Linked DNA regions of Homo sapiens: region 1 is linked to region 2. The links are contacts of gene promoters, found by promoter capture Hi-C in blood cells and fetal thymus (Javierre and others, 2016). All regions are on one chromosome and are shown on one strand. Each heading gives the region's core, a stretch centred on a gene start or on the middle of the fragment in contact. The rest is flanking DNA. Distances are from core to core; before and after follow the strand shown. Region 1 overlaps BMS1 (BMS1 ribosome biogenesis factor). Region 2 holds the start of ZNF487 (zinc finger protein 487).

Evidence for each region. The method cuts DNA at HindIII sites, captures the fragments that hold promoters and counts their contacts. A CHiCAGO score of 5 or more calls a contact.
Region 1: a contact is called between a fragment that was not itself captured here and the fragment with the promoter of ZNF487 in region 2, in 1 of 17 cell types (total B cells). The highest score is 5.0, in total B cells.

What each region holds. Positions count from the first base shown.
Region 1 is chr10:42,782,929-42,787,324 of GRCh38, forward strand. It overlaps BMS1 (BMS1 ribosome biogenesis factor), which reads left to right. Exons shown (of 23, transcript NM_014753.4): 2 at 1,434-1,642; 3 at 2,554-2,744; 4 at 4,240-4,319. The coding sequence starts at 1,467. Among named protein-coding and RNA genes, the nearest start is that of BMS1, 2.3 kb to the left of the region's middle. RefSeq lists an enhancer at 1-47. The HindIII fragment of the contact is 1,222 bases long and covers 1,792-3,013 here.
Region 2 is chr10:43,434,727-43,439,093 of GRCh38, forward strand. It overlaps ZNF487 (zinc finger protein 487), which reads left to right and starts at 2,385. Exons shown (of 4, transcript NM_001355444.3): 1 at 2,385-2,536. RefSeq lists an enhancer at 1,840-1,909 and a silencer at 2,010-2,669. The HindIII fragment of the contact is 37,036 bases long and covers 1-4,367 here.

The DNA.
Region 1 (4,396 bases), core at 1,153-3,652, 650 kb before region 2:
CCTCCGGGTCATCTTTGCTCCCGAGGAGCGGCATATTTCTCATCTGGCGGAGGTGTCCTGGGGTAGTTGGGTGAGTGACGTGATGAATCCCTGCAGAGAGCCCAGACGGGGAGGGAAGGTGGCTGGGCGACGTCGTTTCCTGGCGACGTGGTCCCGGTAGGAGACTTAGACCTGAGCTGGATCTGTTGACCCCAAATTGTGCTTTTCCCACCAAGAAGAAAGACAGGGAGAGAAACATTAGTACAAGTGCTGAACTAAAATATAGCAGAGAAGAAACATAATCTCTGAAATCACACAGCTATTCGGTTTCAAAGCGTTCCTAGCGCCCAGCTCTCCTAACTCCTGGCCAGTGTTCTTGACATTATGGTAATACATAAAGACTTTGTTTCCGCTGGTGTGTGTCTGTGGGAAGCCTCTGACTCACCTCCGTGCTCCAGTAGCACCCTGTGCAGCCTTCCAATGTCGCCCTTATTGCGTGGCGCGGAAGATAATAGTTTGGATTTCCTCTGCAAGTCAGATAATAGCTGTATCCACTTACTGGCACAGTGCCTAGCACATCGTAGACAGACACAAATATTTATTCAACGGAATGAATACAGTACCTTAATTGAATGAAATGGCATCCTGCTCCGCTTTTTTTTTTTAATCAAGCTGTCAGATTTTATGCAGCCCGATTTCCTAAAATAACTCACTAATTCAGTGATTGCCAATTTATTAGCCACAGATTCCCAGGTAACTCAGAAATCACTGGAAGGGTCTCTGTAAGTTCATGGGGTCTCCAGGTGTCATCTAGAACCAGTCCTATCTCACACGTACAGCTATTTCTATTTTTCAAATGTATGTAGATAAGTTGTAATTTAGGAGTTTTACAGAGTCAACAGGTACTAAAAGTAATACTGCGATCATATTGGAGGTTCATAAAAACGTTTCACATTTTTTTATTAAAATTTAAGTTTTAGTTTAAGTTAGGAAACCACTTCATCAGTCCAGTTGATACCTGGGTCTGAGCTGTCCAGTATGGTAGCCACATGTGACTATTTGGAGTTAGAATGAAATTAATTAAAAACTCATTTTTTCAGTTTCCCTAAGTATATTGTAAGTAACCACATGTGGCTAATGGCTAAATGGCTGAAAAGTACAGATATAGTATATTTCTATCCTTGCAGAAATAGATACTGCTGATGTTGACACTTAAGATGAATAAAAAGTAACTTAACCATAAAATGTAATCTTAAGAGAGGTAACTCATCTAATTTATAGCATAACAGAGAGAAATGAAATTGGGGATGGTTAAGCAGTTTCTACCCTTGTTCAGTGAACAAATACATCATCTCTTCATAAAGAAATAAATGAAATTTACTGTTTTTCCCTGGGTATTGCCTGGATTGTAAAATGCTTCTCCCATCTCCTTACCCCAACCTTCTTCCTTGTAGGTTAGAGTTACTTGTTATTGGTAAATAGCCACTATGGAGGCTAAGGACCAGAAGAAACACAGAAAGAAAAACAGTGGACCCAAAGCTGCAAAGAAAAAGAAGCGGCTTCTGCAGGATCTCCAGCTAGGAGACGAAGAAGATGCCCGGAAGAGAAATCCCAAAGCTTTTGCAGTTCAGTCTGCTGTGCGGATGGCTCGATCCTTTCACAGGTATGTTAGGCTACGGTCTGGTCATTCTTCCATTGATTCTTTTTTTAAATAGTAGGAGCCTCTCACAGGTGACATTTGGATTCACGAGTCTAGTCCAGCTCCAAAGGACATGGAGATTCATGGTGTGTGGCTTTCACTAAAACGTGAGAAGCTTTTCCCATAGAAGCTGCCTTGCCTCCAGCATCTGCATACTGGTTAGTGTTTATTGCCCAGGATACAAGAATTTATAGACTTTGTTTGTTCCTAAATTTTAAACTGTTTCTATGGTGATAAGTGTGCTTTTTCCCCCCAGGTATGTTTTACATAGTTGTAATATAAAATACAAAAATTACAATATTTAATACTAACATAGCTTTATTTAGTGAGCCCTTGTGATATGCCTAGCAGTGTACTTTAAACATTATTCAACTAAATCCTTCCAGCAGCCTTACCAGAGTAGGAATCATTCTTGCCCTCATTTTATGGGTAAGAAAACTGAGATCAAGAAAACAAGTTACCTCCAATCATATAACCAGTAAGTAGGAGAGCTAAATGTAACTCCAGCGCCTCTGCTCTTATCTGCTATGATGTACTGCCTCGCTATTTACCTTTTGGTTTTTTAAAAAACTATTAAAATCACTCTTAAAACAGTCAGATTTAAGGAGTGTTTAATTTTCGCTCTCTATAGTATTGAAGTCATCTTGTTACATCTTTATTGAACAGCAATTATTTGGATGGGGCCAGAAGTTAGCAAGTTAATAATTGACAAGTTAATTATATTTATATATTGTCTGTTGTACTCTCTATAAAATGTGCTAAAGTACTCATAGCTATAAGTGTACCAAAAAAGTCTACTTATAAGGTTGATACCTTTTACTCTATTTTGAAAATGAGTTTACTATTTATTTATTTGTTTATTTTTTAATGAATAGGACTCAGGATTTGAAGACAAAAAAGCATCATATTCCAGTGGTTGATCGAACTCCACTAGAGCCCCCACCAATAGTGGTAGTGGTGATGGGACCTCCAAAAGTTGGAAAGAGCACTTTGATACAATGCCTCATTCGGAACTTTACCCGGCAGAAGTTGACTGAGATCAGAGGCCCTGTGACGATTGTGTCAGGTAGGAGATGCCACCACAGACACAGAGTTGGCGTGGCTGTTGTCATCTGAGGGACATGCATGCGTTTGTTGTTTTCTTGAGTGGAACATGTTAAATATTGTCATATCATGGGACTTCTCTTATACTTAGTATTACTAAGTTGGCTATAGCTTCAGAAAAGGGTAAGTTCCCAGAGATAAGGATGTGATAATGTTCACATTTCCTCCCAGCACTCTGGGAGGTTCCAAGGCAGGAAGATACTCGAACCCAGCACTCGGGCTGGAAAATCAAGCTTTGCTGCTCGATTGCGACACCAGCCACAGTCCTCTTCCTCCGTGTAGAAGGATGTGTGGTCCAGCCTCTTAAGGTGATGCTTTCCTTTTCTTCCTGGTTTCCTCCTCCATTTTTTGTATGAGAAATGATAATGTTCACTATGTCTTATCCTGACTGCTCTTTGGCTTTGCCAAACATGTTCCTTGGAAGGGCCTAGCAGGCCTAGTCACCGTGAACACATCATTTAACAGATAGCACGCACCTCCTATGTGCCAGGTGCATATGCTTGCCTTATGAAGCCACATTCTGGTGGAAGTGCGAGTTTTCTCTTTTTCCTGTGAGAATTGTCTGCTTTGGGAGATGGTGACCTTTCCGAGTTTGAGGGAAAATGAAACAAACTTCCAGTGGTAGAATGGCAATGTACACTCTGAAATCTCTTGTTATTGCAATAATATAGTTGGATTGAGGCTTTTCTTTATCTTTGGAGCATCCATATTTTCTTTTCCCTTTTTTGAGACAGAGTCTTACTCTGTGGTACAGGCTGGAGTGCAGTGGTGTGATTACGGCTCACTGCAGCCTCTACCTCCCAGGTTCAAGCATTCCTCCTACCTTAGCCTCCTGAGTAGTGTATGCCACCACGCCTGGCTAATTTTTCTTTTTTTTCCTTTTTTTTTTTTTTCTGTAGAGATGGGGTTTCCCCATATGGCCCAGGCTGGTCTCAAAACTCCTGGGCTCAAGGGATCCGCCTGCCTTGGCCTCCCAAGTTGCTGGGACTACAGGCGAGAGCTACTGTGCCCAGCCCATATTTTCTTGACTGTTTTATTTTTACCTTAATTTAGAAGTAATTATTGTTATGAATATTCTGTTGCATTATGTTTGAGGATGTTTGTAGCTCTAGTGGGAATACGGGAAGTTTTGATAGAGGCAAAGACATTGGGCCTGCAGCTGAACAGCAGGATCATGGTTATCATGGAGTCTGTGCAGTCAGAATTTTCCCTTTTTGAGCACTTTTATTCATCTGGGTAGACTTTTGATGTTATTTAAATTTAGAACACAGCAAGAAAAACAGAATGGAATTTATTTTATTTTATCAGTTTTTGCCTGTAAAAATGAACTTCTTGTATGCTCCTGTAAATGTATATGATGTTTTACTGGATGCAGTTAAAAAATGAAAATTAAGAGTTGATGGTTAGAGTTTTTTCAGGGTCTTTTTAAAGTAAAATTTTCATCTTTTCACTTATAGGTAAAAAGCGCAGACTCACCATTATTGAATGTGGGTGTGACATTAACATGATGATTGATCTGGCTAAAGTAGCAGATCTGGTAAGTGAGCAGGGGCAGCCTGGGGTGCTGATGGAGACTTACAGCATTGTGATAGGTTATTTACCCCGTGATGAAGG
Region 2 (4,367 bases), core at 1,135-3,634:
GGCAGGCGATCACTTGAGGTCAGGAGTTTGAGACCAGCCTGGCCAACCTGGTGAAACCCCATCTCTACTAGGTGGCAGGTGCCTGTAATCCCAGCTATTCGAGAGGCTGAGACAGGAGAATTGCTTGAACCTGGGAGGCAGAGGTTGCAGTGAGCCGAAATTGTGCTACTTCACTCCAGCCTGGGCGACAGAGCAAGACTCCTTCTCAAAAAAAAAAAAAAAAAATTTTTTTTAAATCCAGAAAGCAGGAGGAATAGAGAGGAGCTAAAGCTGTCATTGGAGAAAAAGCAGTAATTACTCATGCTAGCTGAAGAAGGGATGTTTATTCTTCTGTGTGTGTGGTTGCGCAGTGCCAGTTTTTATTTATGCAGGCAAGATCACTGATCGGAATTATTTTCTCCTTCCCTCAGTCACAGAAAGAACTCGTCTGATATCAATTTTCTGTGAACCTGTTTATGTTCATCAAGTAATCCAGGCCAGCTACCGTGGGTCTCAGGGCTTTTTTTTTTTTTTTTTTTTTTTTTTGGGACAGAGTCTCGCTCTTGTTGCCCAGGCTGGAGTGCAATGGCGAGATCTCGGCTCACAGCAACCTCTGCCTCCCGGGTGCAAGCTATTCTCCTGCCTCAGCCTCCCGAATAACTGGGATCACAGGCATGTGCCACCACACCCAGCTAATTTTGAATTTTTAGTAGAGTTGGAGTTTCACCATGTAGGCCAGACTGATCTTAAACTCCTGATCTCAGGTGATCCACCCGCCTTGGCCTCCCAATGTGTTAGGATTACAGGCGTAAGCCACCACGCCCGGGCTTTTTATTTTTTTTCTTAATGATGCTGCACCTAATCACATTTAGGTGGCAGGCAAAAGAATATTGCTTAGCTGCTTTGCTACAGAAATGACAACTCTTGGGCAGGGGCGCGGTGGCTCACGCCTGTAATCCTACCACTTTGGGAGGCCGAGGCCAGTGGATCACCTGAGGTCAAGAGTTCGACACCAGGCCGGGCACGGTGGCTCATGCCTGTAATCCCAGCACTTTGGGAGGCCGAGACGGGCGGATCACGAGGTCAGGAGATCAAGACCAACCTGGCTAACACGGTGAAACCCCGTCTCTACTAAAAATACAAAAAATTAGCCGGGCGTGGTGGCGGGCGCCTGTAGTCCCAGCTACTCGGGAGGCTGAGGCAAGACAATGGCGTGACCCTGGGAGGCGGAGCTTGCAGTGAGCTGAGATCGCGCCACTGCACTCCACCCTGGGTGACAGAGCGAGACTCCGTCTCAAAAAAAAAAAAAAAAAAAAAAAAAAAGAGTTCGACACCAGCCTGGCCAAAATGGTGAAACCCCATCTCTACTAAAAACAAAAAAAATTAACCGGGCGTGGTGGCGGACGACTGTAATCCCAGCTACTCGGGAGCCTGAGGTAGGAGAATCACTTGAACTCGGGAGGCGGAGGTTGCAGTGAGCCAAGATCGCGCCACTGCACTCCAGCCTGGGCAACAAGAGCGAAACTTCGTCTCCAAAAAAAAAAAAAAAAAAAAGGACAACTTTTGATCCCTGAGGCTGCTAATTCCAACTGTGTGCATGTGCTTAACAAATACCTCCGCACCCAGGCCTGGGAAGTTGGCTGATTTGTGTACAGCAAATACGGCAGGCCTGATGTAGCAGAACTCTGACGAAAACGAACTGGACGCGTATTTCTCCTGCAGCGAAGGTCACGCTGCTGACAGCCTCTGCTTTGCACTTTGTCCCTGGGAAGGAGGCCTGTGGCCAGTCCTACCTCCTGGAAAGCCGGGGTGCGTCAGAGGACCTGATGCGGAGCGGGGACCCCATCCTCTCCGTGTCTCCCCAAGAGCCGGCGGCAGAGGCTGCCTGCGCTCCTTAAGCTAGGTCAGTTCTCTGGCCCGCAGTTCTCGTTCTCCTAACATCCTCCGCAGAAAACGACCTTCATTTTTTCCTCTTGCGCCAGTCTTGAAGCGGGGCGTCCTTTGGGCTCACGTTGCGGCGCCCAGCGGCCTCAAGCGTCAGCTGCCTCCAGGGCCTCAGGAGCAGTGGCTAGGGCCTGCCCTCCAGCGCCCGGGGTCCTCGGCCCAGCCCTGCTCCGAGCGCGTCACAATGGCGTCGCGGCCCCGCCCCCGGACGCCCAGCCGCGGTCCCAGCGACCTTCGCTTTCGTGGGGAAGCCGGACTGCGCCGTGTCTTCCTGAAGAAGGCTGGGGTAAGAGTCCGGCCAGCGGACAAGAGGGCAGCTGGTAGCAGGGTGGGATGCCCGTGGCATAGGGCCGAGCCCCCGCTAGGCACGCGGGAGCAGCAAGGCTTCCGGAAGCGCAGGGAGCGCTGGACTGGCGGGCGCCCGGGATTCGCGCAGGCCCCGCCCCTCGGCGGCCCCGCCCAGGGAGCGCTGCGGCAGTTTCCATGGTGAGATGGTCAACAAGCCTGTAAGTTCCTCAGCTACGACTACCAGGTACCTCGGGTTCCTCCCTCCTCCGAGAGACCGCCGAGGTGCGGGCTGTGAGAGGGGGAGCGTGGAGCCTCCGAGGCCGAGGTGAGGGGCGGCCGGCGGGCAGGGGCCGGGTCTGAGGTCGAGGGCCGCACACCCAGGATCGAGCGGGGACTGGGCCCGCTGGGGGTGGGGACCGTGGGGCTGGGATTTGGGATCAGGGCGAGTCGTGGCAGAGAGAACCCGGAGGATCTTTGACCCCAGTGCGGGAGCGGCCAGCCCACCCTAGAGAAGCGAGACAAGGGCAACCAGAAGGAACCGAGTCTGAGGAAGCGCTTCCTCTGGGCAGGGATATTGGGAGAGTCCTGGACGAGTGACCCTGGACCTAGGAGGCATGAGAGGTCTACACACACTTGCAAGGATACCTTCATGATTGTTGAGTTGTGGTGAGAAAAGAGGCTCTTTTTAGTTTATTTTTTAAGGCAGTACATTCACATCCTTAAGAGTCAGAAACTTGCACAAGGCCTTATTACTCAAAACTCCCTTTTCCCAGTTCCTTCTGAGGAAATAGTTGCAAATCTTTGAACTTTTTTCCTCCGGAAATTTTCTTTTTTTCTCTTACATCGGCAGCTCTTCACTGTGTTCTTCCTTCATTAGCTTTACTAAGTTTGTATTCTTTGGTTGGAAATATTTATTTATTTATTTATTTATAAATAGAAACAGGGGTATCACTATGTTGCTCAGGCTGGTCTTGAACTCCTGGGCTCAAGTGATTCTCCTGCTTTAGCTTTCCAAAGTGCGGGGATTACAGGCTGAACCACCGCCTGCCACCGAAATATTTCTTCATTGAGTTCCTTTGCCTCCTAGTGTTACTTTTCTGCTGTGTGTGTAATAGCCATTTGTTTTTTCTTTCTCCTTTCTGGTCATATCCTTAAATACATTTTGCACTAATTCCTTTTGAAACCTCATCATGGAGAGAACTTGAATTTAGCAGATTAGGGGTGAGTGCAGGCTTTTGTCTTAGGTTCCATATATATATATATTTTGAGGTGGAGTCTCCCTCTGTCGCCCAGGCTGGAGTGCAGTGGCGTGATTTTGGCTCACTGAAACCTCCACCTCCTGGCTTCAAGCAATTCTCCTGCCTCAGCCTCCCAAGTGACGAGGGTTACAGGCACGTGCCACCACACCCGGCTAATTTTTGTATTTTTAGTAGAGACAGGGTTTTGCCTTGTTGGCCAGGCTGGTCTCGAATTATTGACCTCAGGTGATCCACCTGCCTCAGCCCCCCAAAGTGCTGGGATTACAGGCGTGAGCCACTGCACCCAGCCCCCATATATTAAGAAATATACCCTTGTGTATTGTTGGTAAGAATGTAAAATGGTACAGCAGCTATGGAAAACAGTATGGCAGTTCCCTCAAAAAATTAACAAATAGAATTGCCATATGATCCAGCAGTACCACTTCTGGGTCTGAATCCAAGAGAAATGAAAGCGGGGACTCAGTTACTTGTACAGTCATGTTCATAGCAGCATTATTTGCAATAGTCAAAAGGGAGAGGTAACCCCAGTGTCCATTGATAGATGGATAAACAAAATGTGTCATATACAATAGAATATCATTCAGCCTTAGGAAGAAAATCTTGGCTGGATGCAGCGGCTCATGCTGGTAATCCCAGCACTTTGGGAGGCCAAGGTGGGAGGATTGCTTGAGTCCAGGAGTTCCAGACCAGCCTGAGCAACATAGCGAGATCCTGTTTCCACAAAAAATAAAATAAAATAAAGAATACAAAAATTAGCTGGGCAGGCCGGGCGCGGTGTCTCACGCCTGTAGTCCCAGCACTTTGGGAGGTCGAGGTGGGTGGATCAGAGGGTCAGGAGTTTGAGACCAGCCTGGCCAATATGGTGAAACCTTGTCTCTACTAAAAGTACAAAAATAT